Regions from separate parts of the Homo sapiens genome. Here region 2 is linked to region 1. The links are contacts of gene promoters, found by promoter capture Hi-C in blood cells and fetal thymus (Javierre and others, 2016). All regions are on one chromosome and are shown on one strand. Each heading gives the region's core, a stretch centred on a gene start or on the middle of the fragment in contact. The rest is flanking DNA. Distances are from core to core; before and after follow the strand shown. Region 1 overlaps POLR2B (RNA polymerase II subunit B). Region 2 holds the start of CEP135 (centrosomal protein 135).

The links. Contacts are between HindIII fragments. The CHiCAGO score rates a contact against its expected background, and 5 or more counts as called.
Region 2: a contact is called between the fragment with the promoter of CEP135 here and a fragment that was not itself captured in region 1, in 4 of 17 cell types (non-activated CD4 T cells, total B cells, total CD8 T cells and 1 more). The highest score is 7.3, in non-activated CD4 T cells.

What each region holds. Positions count from the first base shown.
Region 1 is chr4:56,979,001-56,984,180 of GRCh38, reverse strand. POLR2B (RNA polymerase II subunit B) reads right to left here. Exons shown (of 25, transcript NM_000938.3): 1 at 5,177-5,180. Among named protein-coding and RNA genes, the nearest start is that of POLR2B, 2.7 kb to the right of the region's middle. RefSeq lists an enhancer at 4,912-5,011. The HindIII fragment of the contact is 2,120 bases long and covers 1,833-3,952 here.
Region 2 is chr4:55,945,192-55,952,373 of GRCh38, reverse strand. It overlaps CEP135 (centrosomal protein 135), which reads right to left and starts at 3,429. Exons shown (of 26, transcript NM_025009.5): 1 at 3,315-3,429; 2 at 131-288. The coding sequence starts at 243. EXOC1-AS1 (EXOC1 antisense RNA 1) reads left to right here and starts at 4,362. Exons shown (of 5, transcript XR_941069.4): 1 at 4,362-4,534. RefSeq lists silencers at 3,024-3,483, 3,534-3,673 and enhancers at 2,888-3,852, 4,471-4,620. The HindIII fragment of the contact is 6,740 bases long and covers 516-7,182 here.

The DNA of each region.
Region 1 (5,180 bases), core at 1,643-4,142:
ATCAGATTTTTTTTCAGGCTGGGCGCACTGGCTCACACCTATAATCCCAACACTTTAGGAGGCCGAGGCAGGCAGATCACTTGAGACCAGGAGTTCGAGACCAGCCTGGCCAACATGGAGAAAACCCATCTCTACTAAAAATACAAAAATTAGCCAGGCATGGTGGCACCTGCCTGTAGTCCCAGCTACTAGGAAGGCTGAGGCAGGAGAATCGCTTGAACCCAGAAGGTGGAGGTTGCAATGAGCCGAGATCACGCCACTGCACTCCAGCCTGGGTGAGAGTGCGACCCTGTCTAAAAAAAAAAAAAAAGTGATATGAATATTCCTGACAAAGATCTGAAAAGGTTAGGGAAGACTTCCCAAAAGCTGGGCAGAGGCCAGGTGCAGTGGCTCATGTCAGTAATCCCACCACTGGAAGGCCAAGGCAGCAGGATCACTTGAACCCAGGAGTTCGAGACCAGCCTGAGCCACAAAGCGAGACCCCCGTCTCTAAAATTTTCTTTAAAAAGCTGGCCGGGCGCAGTGGCTCACGCTTGTAATCCCAGCAGTTTGGGAACCCAAGGCAGGTGGATCACAAGGCCAAGAGTTTGAGAGCAGCCTGGCCAGCATGGTGAAACCCCGTCTCTACTAAAAATACAAAAATTAGAAGGGCATGGTGGCGCATCCCTGAAATCCCAGCTACTCAGGAGGCTGAGGCGAAGAATCACTTGAACCTGGGAGGCAGAGGTTGCAGTGAGCCGATATCACACCACTGCACTCCAGCCTGGGGGACAAAGGGAAACTCCATCTCAAAAAAAAAAAAAAAAAAAAAACCTGAGCAGAGATCTCGTGTTATAAACAGGAGTAATCAGGCAAAAGGAAGGGACAAAGGTAGGAGTCAAGAAAGAATCCTACCAAATAGAAAAAAACAAATTGTGCAAAAGACCCCATAATGCAAGACAGGATGGCATATTCAAAGAATGATAGAAGGCCAATGTAGCGGAAGCACAGATTGTGAAGTTGGAAGTGGAATAAGAAGAGTTTGGCCTTTACCAAGAGATATGAGTTTAGCAGGGTTGTGGCTAGGTCAGATTTTCATTTCTGAAAGATCCCTATGGCCAGTGTGGAGAGTGGATTGGAAGTATACAAATCAGTTAGGAGTAATCTAGGCAAGGGATGGCAGCAACATGAACTAGAATGATGGTGGAGGGGATAGAGAAGTGGCCAGATTTGACATATTTAGGAGACAGAACCAACAGGGCTTGGTGACTGATTAGATATAGAGGTGAAAGAGAGGAGTCAAAAATGATGCCCAGGCTTTCGGTTTCAACAACAGAGGGTACAACAGTTGTACCTCAGTGTCCATTGGAGACTGGTTTCAGGACCTCCCATAGATACCAAACACAGATGCTTAAGTCCCTGACATGAAATGGCACTGTTATATACCCTAGGCACACATCCTCCTGTATCTTTTAAATTATCTCTAGATTATTTATAATACCTAATACAATGTAAATGCTATATAAATAATTATTTACTTGTAATGTTTATGGAATAATGGCAAGAAAAAAAAAGTCTGTACATTTTTACAAGGACGCAATTTTTTTTTAATATTCTCTTTTTTGTTTTTTGAGACAGGGCCTTGCTGTTACCCAGGCTGAAGTGCAGTGGTGTGATCACAGCTCACTGTAGCCTCAAATTCTTAGGGCTCAAGCAGTCCTCCCACCTCAGTATCCCGAGGAGCTGGGATCACAGGCACATGCCACCATGCCCAGCTAATTTTTTAAATTTTTTTGTAGAGATGAGGTCTCCCTATGTTGCCCAGGCTGGTCTCAAATTCCTGGCCTCAAGCTTTTTAATATTTTCAATCCAAGGTTAATTGAATATACAGATGTGAAACCTACAGATACAGAGGGCCAAATGTGCCCTTCACCGAGACAGAGAAGACAGGAGGCAGTGGCTTTGGGAGGGGAATAGCAAAAGAAAATAATTAGCTCAGTTTGGGCAGTTGACAAGGTTAAGCAGCCTGGGAGATATCCTAGTTGGCTAGTGGCAGTTAGATACCCCAGATTTTAAACTAGAAGTATACACATTCAGAAGTTATCCGCATACAGATGGTAACTGAAACAATGGAAAATGGATGAGATCACCCAAGGAGAATGTGAACAGGAAAGAAAATGAGAAAAGTCAGATAAGAAAAATCAAGTGAAAGTGATGTCGCTAGAAAGCTGAGTGAGTTTCCGGGAAGATGTCATCAACAGTTTTGAAGACCACAGGGTTTAGATAAGTTTTAAATATCCATCTCATTTATCAATTGAGAAGTCGCTGTCAATCTTAGAGCTATCTTAATGTAGTAGCATGAGTAGAAACATATTGTAATCAGTTGAAAAGCACATGAAAGATGAAAATTAGAAACAAGGACAGCTTATTATTTTTATAAGTTTGGCTGTGAGTGAAAGAAGAAAGGTAAAATACTAGAAGAAAAAGGTAACAATGAAAAGAATTTAACTTGTTTCCATGTGGATGACAGAAATCTGACATTTTCACATAGTGACTGAAAACTGATGAGGACGTTATCTAATAAACATTTCAGAGGACATGGGCAATAAAATGTAGGTTCACTGCTAAAGCAACCCTGATAAACTCTTTTTCCACAGGATCATTATACATTGCTAATAAGAATGCAAAATTAGTACAATCACCACTATGGTGGTCACTTGGCATCATCTAGCAAAATGTTAAACGTGCATATCATTTGACCTGACAATTTTATATGTAGAAATGTATCCCACAGACATACTTGGGCAAATTATACGTACAAGATTATTCATTTACAGCACTGTTTGAACCCGAAAATGACTAGAAATAAACCGAATATCCATCAAGAGACTACTTAAGTTATGGTACATCCACACAAACTAAGTAACTGGGGGTGGGGACACGGGAGGGGGGGCGCGATGCTTTCTGTGTACTGATACGAAAATCTCCTGGACACATTAAACAAAATCTAAAAGTGGAGAAAAGTGTGAATATTACTGTCTTTAAAAAAAGAGAAAATCCCATTTATATTTGCTTAAATATGCATAAGGAAACTGTGGAGGCTGGGCTTGGAGGTTCACACCTGCAATCCCAGCACTTTCGGAGGCCGAGGCAGGTGAATCACCTGAGGTCAGGAGTTTGAGATCAGCCTGGCCAACGTGGAGAAACCATCTCTACTAAAAATACTAAAATTAGCTGGGCACGGTGGTGTACGCCTGTAATCTCAGCTACTCGGGAGGCTGAGGCAGGAGAACTGCTTGAACCTGGGAGATGGAGGTTACAGTGAGCCGAGATTGCGCCACCACACTCAAGCCTGGGCAACAGAGCAAGACCATCAAAAAAAAAAAAAGAAACTGTGGAGTGATAAGAACCTCTTATAACTGTTATAACTGTAGTTACCCACTGTGGAGAGTTCAAACTGGGCAGATGGTGGGTAAGAAGGAGACGTGACACTTTAACTTGTTTTTTTTGAGACAAGGTCTCACTTTGTTCTCAGCTCATAGCAGTGTCAACTTCCCAGGCTCAAGCGATCCTCCAGCCTCAGCCCCACAAGTAGCTGGGACTATAGGTGAGCAAGACCACGCCCAGCTAATTTTTCTATTTCTTATAGAGAGGGGTCTCCCATGTTGCCCAGGCTGCTCTCGAACTCCTGAGCTCAAGTAATCCACCCGCCTCAGACTCCCAAAATGCTGGGATAACAGGCGTGAGCCACTGCACCAGCCACCCCACTTTAACATTTTTAAATTTTCTGGCTTGTGAGCTATGAGAATATATTACCCAGCCAAAAATTATGCTTTAAAAATCTTTTTTTTCGAATTTTTCTTCTACTGAGATAGTAGTTAAAAAAGAACAAGGAATATAATGATGCTAATAAATTTCTACAACACAAGATATAAATGAGACAGAAGTTTAAACAGCTTTAAAAGTTTAAGCTTTTGGCTGGGCACATTGGCTCATGCTTGTAATCCCAGCACTTTGGGAGGCCGAGACAGGCAGATGGTTTGACCTCAGGAGTTTGAGACCAGCCTGGGCAACATGGCCAGACCCCATCTCTTAAAAAAAAAAAAAAAAAATTAAGCTTTTGCTTCAATTTTTTCCATCTGATTTATCAGAAGTACCTGAGGGAATAGAGAGAGGAGATGTAGGGGGTGGCCAAGGAATTGAGAGCTATAAGAAAATAAGGTTTGAATTAGCAGATATGGAGAATGGAAAAGGCGGCTACGAAAATACACTAGACTCAACTAAGAATTTTTTTTTTTTTTTTTTGAGACAGTCTAACTCTGTCACTCAGGCTGTGGTGTAGTGGTGCGATCTCAGCTCACTGCAAACTCCGCCTCCTGGGCTCAAGCGATCGTCCGGCCTCAGCCTCCCGAGTAGCTGGGATTACAGGCGCACGCCATCACACTAGGCTAATTTTTGTATTTTTAGTAGATACAGGATTTCCCCATGTTTGTCAGGTTGGTCTCAAGCGATCTGCACATCTCGGCCTCCCAAAGTGCTGACGGGAGCCACCGCGCTCGGCCACTACTAAGAATTCCATATGCGCAAACAAACAGGTATTATACATTGGCCCAGTGCAGCAGAATACATATCATCTGAGAACTGTGACATTGTGAGAAGAGGAAGTTAAAAGTCATCCTTTAAGACAATTTACTTTGACTTACAAACAGTATGAAGAAATGTCAGACTAAACCGAGTCCCCCCCGCCACCCCCACCCCCCGATATTCTCTGTCCCGGAATATTTCCAGGACCTTCCACACTGCCTGACACAGGCTGACACTCAACAATTGAGCTATTCGTTAAGTCGACTGTGGCTTTAAGGAAAATTTTTAAAGGGTGCCCTTTGCTTCAAATTCAAAACGTAATTTATCTTACGATTCTGCACGCTACTTCACCACAGGAAACGAGGATCAGATCTAACGGAACGAGAAAGTGCAGAGAGCAGCAGTGAACGTAACCTGGAACATTAACACTATGTTCCCTGCACCCTCCGCCTCTCCCTACCCCAGTTTCGTTCCCGGCCTGGTAAGTGTGGGAACAAGGCTGGGGACTGTGCAGCCGGCGCATGGGAAGGCCCCAAATCCTCAATCCAATCAGTTCCCAACGCTTTCCTGCTTAAATGGACCGCCACGGCGTGTGTTTTGAGCGTTCACCTACCCTC
Region 2 (7,182 bases), core at 2,180-4,679, 1.0 Mb after region 1:
ACAGATAAGCTTCATGATTGAAAGCCTTTCCGGAAAGCTACCCTTTTCTTTACCAAAGCATGAAGTTCAATCAGAAATGAGGTAAGTGGTTAGGGATCATAAAGGTTGAAAACTGTATTTTTGTCTTTACCTGAAAAGTTTTTCTACCAAAGGTAAACACTCCACTGTCAGAGTCTGGCGGTATCCCAGCTGATCCAGCCTTTTCCTAATATTAATATACTTTCTCTCTACAGCTGTAGTCATCTCGTCTTCTAAAACAAGTTTTATTCACTTCCAAAAATTAAAGTCCTGAGAGAAAAGAATGAAACATCATTATCTTATTATAGCTATGATTGTTGTTTCACAATAAGAAGAAAAAATTATTTTAATATGAAGCAATTATTTTTTGTTTTTCTTCAGGTAGGTAGCCTTCTGGAAAATTCAGATTTAAAGCCAATGCTTATGATATTCCTGTTACTGCATTAAAATAAATACTTCCTCATACAACTAAATGTAAAAGTTAAAATCCTAAAGCTTCTAGGAGAAAACAAAGATTTTTCCTAAGCCTGAAGTAGGCAGAGACTTCTCAGAGAGGCCTCTTTTAAAAGCACTAAACATAAAAGATAAATTTGATAAATTGGACTTCATCAAAATTTAAAATGTCTGCTCATCAAAATACTCAATTAAAATAGAGAAGGCAAACCAAAGAGTGGGAGAAAATATTCACAATATCTGACAAAGGATTTGTATAGGGAATATAAAAGGAATTCTTACAACTCAATAATAAGACAAACATCCCAATAAGAACATTAATTTGGGCTAAAACTGTAATTTAGTTGCGCTAAAGATTCGAACAGACACCTCGCATAGGTGTCTGAATGGGAATGATGATATGAAATGGTGCTCAACAGTAGTCAACATGGAAATACAAATTAAAACAACAAGGTACATTTTCTCCCAAACTAGAATGACTAAAATTACAAGGACCGACAATAGCAAATGTCGACAAAGATCTGGAGCAACTGGAATCTTCACACATTGCTGACAGGAATGTAAAATCACTTTGGAAAAAGTCTGGCAGTTTTTTTATAAAGTTAAACATACTTCTGGACTATAACCCTGTGATTTTATTCCCAGGTATTTATAGAAATAAAAAATATTCACAAAAATACTCTACAAGAATGTTCACAGCTTTACTCATAGTAGCCCCAAACTGGAAACAACCTAAACCCCCATCAACAGCAGAAGGGGTAAAGTATGATATATTTATACAGTGCAATACTAAGGGATAAAAGGAACTACTGATACACATCAACAGCATGGATGAATCTCAAAAACATTATTTGAGCAAAAGAAACCAGACAAATACTGTATGACTCCATTTACATGAAGTTGATGAACAAGTAAAATTAAAACTATGGGGCCAGAAATTAAAACAAGAGTTGTCTGGGGAGGTGAGGCGGGCTGCAGATTGCCCGTTAAGAGTTAAGACACAACTTTTTAGGGTAATGAAAATATTACATTGATTGGGGTAGTGGTTACACAAGTGTATACATTTAGAGAATTTACTTTTCAAATAGTACACTTAAACTCTATGCATTTCATCATGTAAATTTCACTTCAATTAAAAAAAAAGACACACATAAGTACCTCTGTTCAAGTTTTTATCTTTGTCTTTTTAAATATTTATGAATATATTCCTATCAATCTGCCCTAAAATGGAGTTATCCAAAGAGCATTTCTTTTTTTTTTTTATTTTAATTGTTACCTTTTTTAGAGACAGGGTCTTGCTATGTGGCCCAGGCTGGTCTCCAACTCCTGAGCTCAAGGTATTCTCCCACCTCTACCTCCCAAAGTGCTAGGTTTACAGGTGTGAGCCAATATGCTCAGCCCAAAGATCATTTCTTTAGAAACTCTGCTCTTTTCTAACCTTTGCTAACTAACTGTAGTCATGGTACTCGTATTTCTAAGCCAAATAAAAATTTTGTTTTACATCTGTTGTTCTTCACAATATATAAAAAATGCATTACATGCATGAGCATACATGTAAAAGTCGATCCTCACAGCTACCCTGTGAGGGAGAAAGACCAATGATATTATCCCTACTTAAACATGAGGAAAGGCTGCCTCAAGAAAGTAACTCTTCCAAAACCACGGGGCCACAAAGTAGGTGGGCAGTCATCAGAGACCAGGTCTCCTGAGTCTCTCCTTGGTCACTCCTTTCTGTATATCTTTCTCTTTGCTCTTGTTAACTTTTTTTGAATGGCTTCCTCATAGATTTCCTAGGTTCTTTCCACAAGAGACACCTAAGTGATGCAGGGTTTTTAGGGAAATTCCTGCAGACATCAGAAATACACCTGACAAATCCAGGTGTATTACTAGCAGGGTGTAAACTTACAGGCGGTGCACCACTCAAAACATTTCCCCTCTTTGCTACCAACTCCAGTTACCCAGAGATAATACCTCCTCACATCCTGCTTTGGAGGGGAGAGAATGAGAATGAATATGAATCAATAAATCATGGCCAGGGCCTCAATACACAGGACGGATTAAAATCCTCCCAGATAGAAACATGTTAGGCCGTCCCCACCCATGAACTGTTGTCTTTCCCCATAACCCCCATCCAAATATGGTGGCTATACTCTAAGTTTCTAGCAAAGCAACATAAAAGGTTAGGTTTGGGGGTCCCCCATACATATATGTGTAGAAGTATCCATCTACTTAACTCTGGGGGTTGGCGTCTCAAAACCAGTACATTTAATGCTGTATGTATGTGTGCACAGGGCTTAAGAAGATAAACAAGAAACCCCAAACGACAACAAAGAAACCCGTTAGCTGTGGTTATCTCAGAGTCCTTTCTTATTGAACTCAAAGTAGTAAAGGCTGGAAAGCAGTGGAGAGGCTTCAAAGGAGCTGGGCAAAGGTTAATTAAAGGCTGTCGTCCTACGCTTTGCGACATTTTTGTTACAAAGAGCATGGATGACTGCTACACTGAGAAGGCATTTTAATGTTTAAATCTATCCATTGGTCAACAGCAAGCCTGTCTGCACGGCCCACACAGACGCTCCTTGACGAGTCGGCCCAAGCTCTCCTCCACCCAATCTCCGGTTTGCAACTTTACCGTCGGGTGTTGACGGGAAGGGGGTGTGGGAGCGGGGTGGGTGGGAAGAGTCCCCGCGCCCCTCCCCGCCCGGTCTGACCCGGCCTGGCCTCACTTCCTCCCGCGGCCGCGCGGCCTCCCGGCAGTGCCCGAGCCCGGCCCGCGGGTACCGCCCAGAAGGCGAAGGCGCCACCACCGCCGCAGCTGGCCCTCTGGCTCCCACATCCGGACTCACCGGCAGCTCCAGCCGCCGTTGCCTCCGCCTCCAGCCGCATTGCCCTCAGGCCTCGAGTCCCCCACTAGCTCCTTCCGTCCAGGCACGGGCTCCGGCGCTAGAGCAGTTTGAAAATGGCGCGGAGGGACGATCGGGGCCGACACGGAGGAGGCGCCGCGGTTGCCCCGGTAACGGGAGCGGCGGACGATTAGCGGCTCGCGGCGGGGACGCGCTTGGCGACGATGGCGGAGCCCCAGTGCCCGGAAATGCAACGGCCCGGACAGCGCGAGGCCACGGCGCCCCCTGGAGGTCGGCGCCCGCGGCCAGCAAATGCCAAACCTCAGCTGGTGCCTGAGCTGGCATCCTCTTCCTCCTGTCGGCGGGAGGTGTGGATCACCTACTGCGTGCGGGGAACAAACGCCGCCCCAGTACCGGTCCCTGCAGCGGAGTAGCCTTCACCTGCAAGGTGAACGCCTGCTCACCACGTAATCCCCAAACGCAGATATCACGTTGTCTCTGCAACTTTCCCTGACAACCACCCAATGCAATTAATTATCCCACAATAGTATCTCCCGCAGGCTCTCTGTAGAACCATAGAATTCATCCATCAAAATACAATCATTTGTTGATCCGTCTCTCTCTGCCGCCCCCAAATGTGAATTCCTTGAGTCAGAGACTATTCTACTCAGCAAAACATTTGTGAGTGGAATTAAATTGAAATAAACCGTTATAGTCCACTCACAGATGGAAAACACATAGTAAAATCCTAGAATTCCATTTCTCCCCTGAAAATTTCCCAGACAGTCAGAGGGAGTTTCATTCTTTCCTGTTTACTTTTCTCCCAAATAGGCCTTCTGAGGCAGCAGAATAGGGAAGGAAGTCAGAAGACTGACCAGCTCATACCTATGGAATGCCTATCATACATACACTTAAAATTATGGCAAGCTCACGCAGGCGCACTAAGAGAGAAAAAACAAGAAAACAGATATGACAATTATAGGAAATCCCCTCCCTAGAGTTAAAGAAGTGTAGGAAGTGGGTATAAAAGAACAAAGGCTATATTAATCCAGGGCTGACACCACTTGAAGATAAGCCCGTTCCTCTCTCTGGTATATTCTTTGCTTAATAAATCTTGTGGGGTGGTTATTTGTGTGTCTCATCCAATTCTTTGTTCATAACACCAAGAACCTGGAACTCCCAACTTCCAATCTGGTAACATATTTTGGTGAGCCAGCCAGGAGGTAAGCCCAGAAGAACTGGGACTTTTTATTTTCTTTCTTTTTTGCTTCAGCTCTTTCACTTTGGTTTAAAGCTGCCTTCTGCTGGCACGGATTGGGCAGTTAAGAACGAAAAAGGCACTGGCCGCTTGAAGACTCCCATTGTTGCGGGAAAGCAGAGGACCAGAAAGACCAATGGGTGGAGCAGGAGGATTTTATTAAGGTGTGCACTGGCTCCGTGGATTTGCATCCAAAAAGCTGAGCCCTGAACAAAGACAGAGCTTGGCTTATATAGGCTAAATTAAAAAAGCAGAACCAAGGCAGTAAATCACACAGTGACAGGTTTTGTAATCTATAGCATAACTGCTGAAATTTGCATAACTTTTGGCTTTGCTTAGCTGGTGGCCTTGCAGCTGCGTCAAAAGAAAAACAGGAACCTACAAATCTTTCTAAACATAGGCAAAAATAATCATAATTAATGGTCTAAGGAAAGAGAAACAGTAAAGGAATTTGTTTTTCTTAACCATTGCTCAGGGGTGTTTGGAGCTCATTCCTGGCTTCTTAGACTAGGTCACCATGACCTTCCTATAGCCTTGCTTGTTACTATCCTTAGAGTGAGTAAATGCAGTACAAAACTTTCTTTAAATTCCTGCCTCAACGTGACAGGATAACCTGATTGGGGAATGGAACAGATGGGTCCCACGGGGTACAAGATCAATCCCTGCAACAGTGAGGTGCATGTTTGTGTGGCTATAATTATTACATTATTTGCTGCTTGTTTTTTTGTTTTTGTTTTTGTTTTTGTTTTTGTTTTTGTTTTGAGATGGAGTCTTGCTCTGTCACCCAGGCTGGAGTGCAGTGGCATGATCTCGGCTCACTGCAACCTTCACCTCCCGGGATCAAGCAATTCTCCTGCCTCAGCCTCCTGAGTAGCTGGGATTACAGGCACCCACCACCATGCCCGGCTAATTTTTGTATTTTTAGTAGAGACAGAGTTTCACCATGTTGGCCAGGGTGGTCTCGAACTCCTGACCTCAGGTGATCCGCCCACCTCGGCCTCCCGAAGTCCTGGTATTACAGGCATGAGCCACCATGCCCAGCCAGCCACCGTGCCCAGCCTTGCTGCTTGTTTTATTTTTTTTTTCTTTTCTTCATTTGTGTTGGGATATCATGTTTTGACCAATTAGAGATCTCCCCCCAACCCAAAGGGCCAGGACAACAGGTAACTGACTGTGGGGAGCCCAAGGATTAGCATCAGCCTGAAGATTAGGGCCAACCACCTGGATAATGAGAGTACCCTGCTTCTTCTGTGAGGGATCAGATCTAGATTGTTTTAGTTTAGTACATCTGGTGCTAAAAGAAAACTCCTGGTGGAGACTCTCGGATCATTGCATAAATTGCACAGTGGATCCATGGGGAAATTACTGTGCCTGGTTTATCTCATATAGTCAGAGGGCACTCTACTATCTTATTGAGAGGCCAGTCTCTAATAACAAATTTAAACTAGGCAGTCTGCAATTCCTTGCCCTTCAAACTAGAGTTACTACAATAATTAAGGAAACCATTTGGGAAGAAACTCTTTTGGCCAGCTACAGGGATACTAGAAGCCAAAGGTTACACCCAGGAACTAAAGGGAAACTTATCATAGGTCACCAATTATGGCAGGATCCTTCTTCAAATGGCACTGGTGCCCACTATGGCTAGAGACGTCTGGCACTCAGAGGACAGGTCCATTTGGGGGATGCCCAAATGGACCAAAATTACAGTCCAGATCCTTCAATAGGGGACACCCTTAAGGGAGACTCTAGATGTAAACTCATGAACCTATGAGACTCCTTTCATGCGCGTCCATGTGAAGAGACCACCAAACAGGTTTTGTGTGAGCAATAAGGCTGTTTATTTCACCTGGGTGCAGGCAGGCTGAGTCTGAAAAGAGAGTCAGCGAAAGGAGATAGGGGTGGGGCAGTTTTATAGGATTTGGGTAGGTAAAGGAAAATTACAGTCAAAGGGGTTATTCTGTGGTGGGCAGGAGTGGGGGTCGCAAGGTGCTCAGTGGGGGAGCTTTTTGAGCCAGGATGAGCCAGGAAAAGGACTTTCACAAGGTAATGTCATCACTTAAGACAAGGACTGGCCATTTTCACTTCTTTTGTGGTGGAATGTCATCAGTTAAGGCGGGGCAGGGTATTTTCACTTCTTTTGTGATTCTTCAGTTACTTTGGGCCATCTGGGCATATATGTGCAAGTCACAGGGGATTCAATGGCTTGGCTTGGGCTCAGAGGCCTGACAACTCCCTTCTTCTTTTCCACAGATTAGTGTTGGGAAACATTCCTTCAGTCCTATCTGACTCCCCTCTTGGCTGCATCTTCAATCATTGGAATCAATTTGACCCTGAAAACCTGTGAAAGAAATGCCTAATATTTTATTGTAACACCTTTTGGCCTCAATTTCAGCTAGGGAGTCAAGAGCAATGGCCAGTCAATGGAAGTCTCAATTATGACACCATCCTCCAATTAGAACTATTTTGTAAGAGACAAGGCAAATGGTCAGAAATACCATATGTGCAAGCCTTCATGGCCCTATACCAAAAGCCTACCATTTTCAAAGCTCCCAGCACTTCTCCACAGAAAGAAACTCCTAAAACTGAGCCGAATACTGTAGATAACCCCCTCTT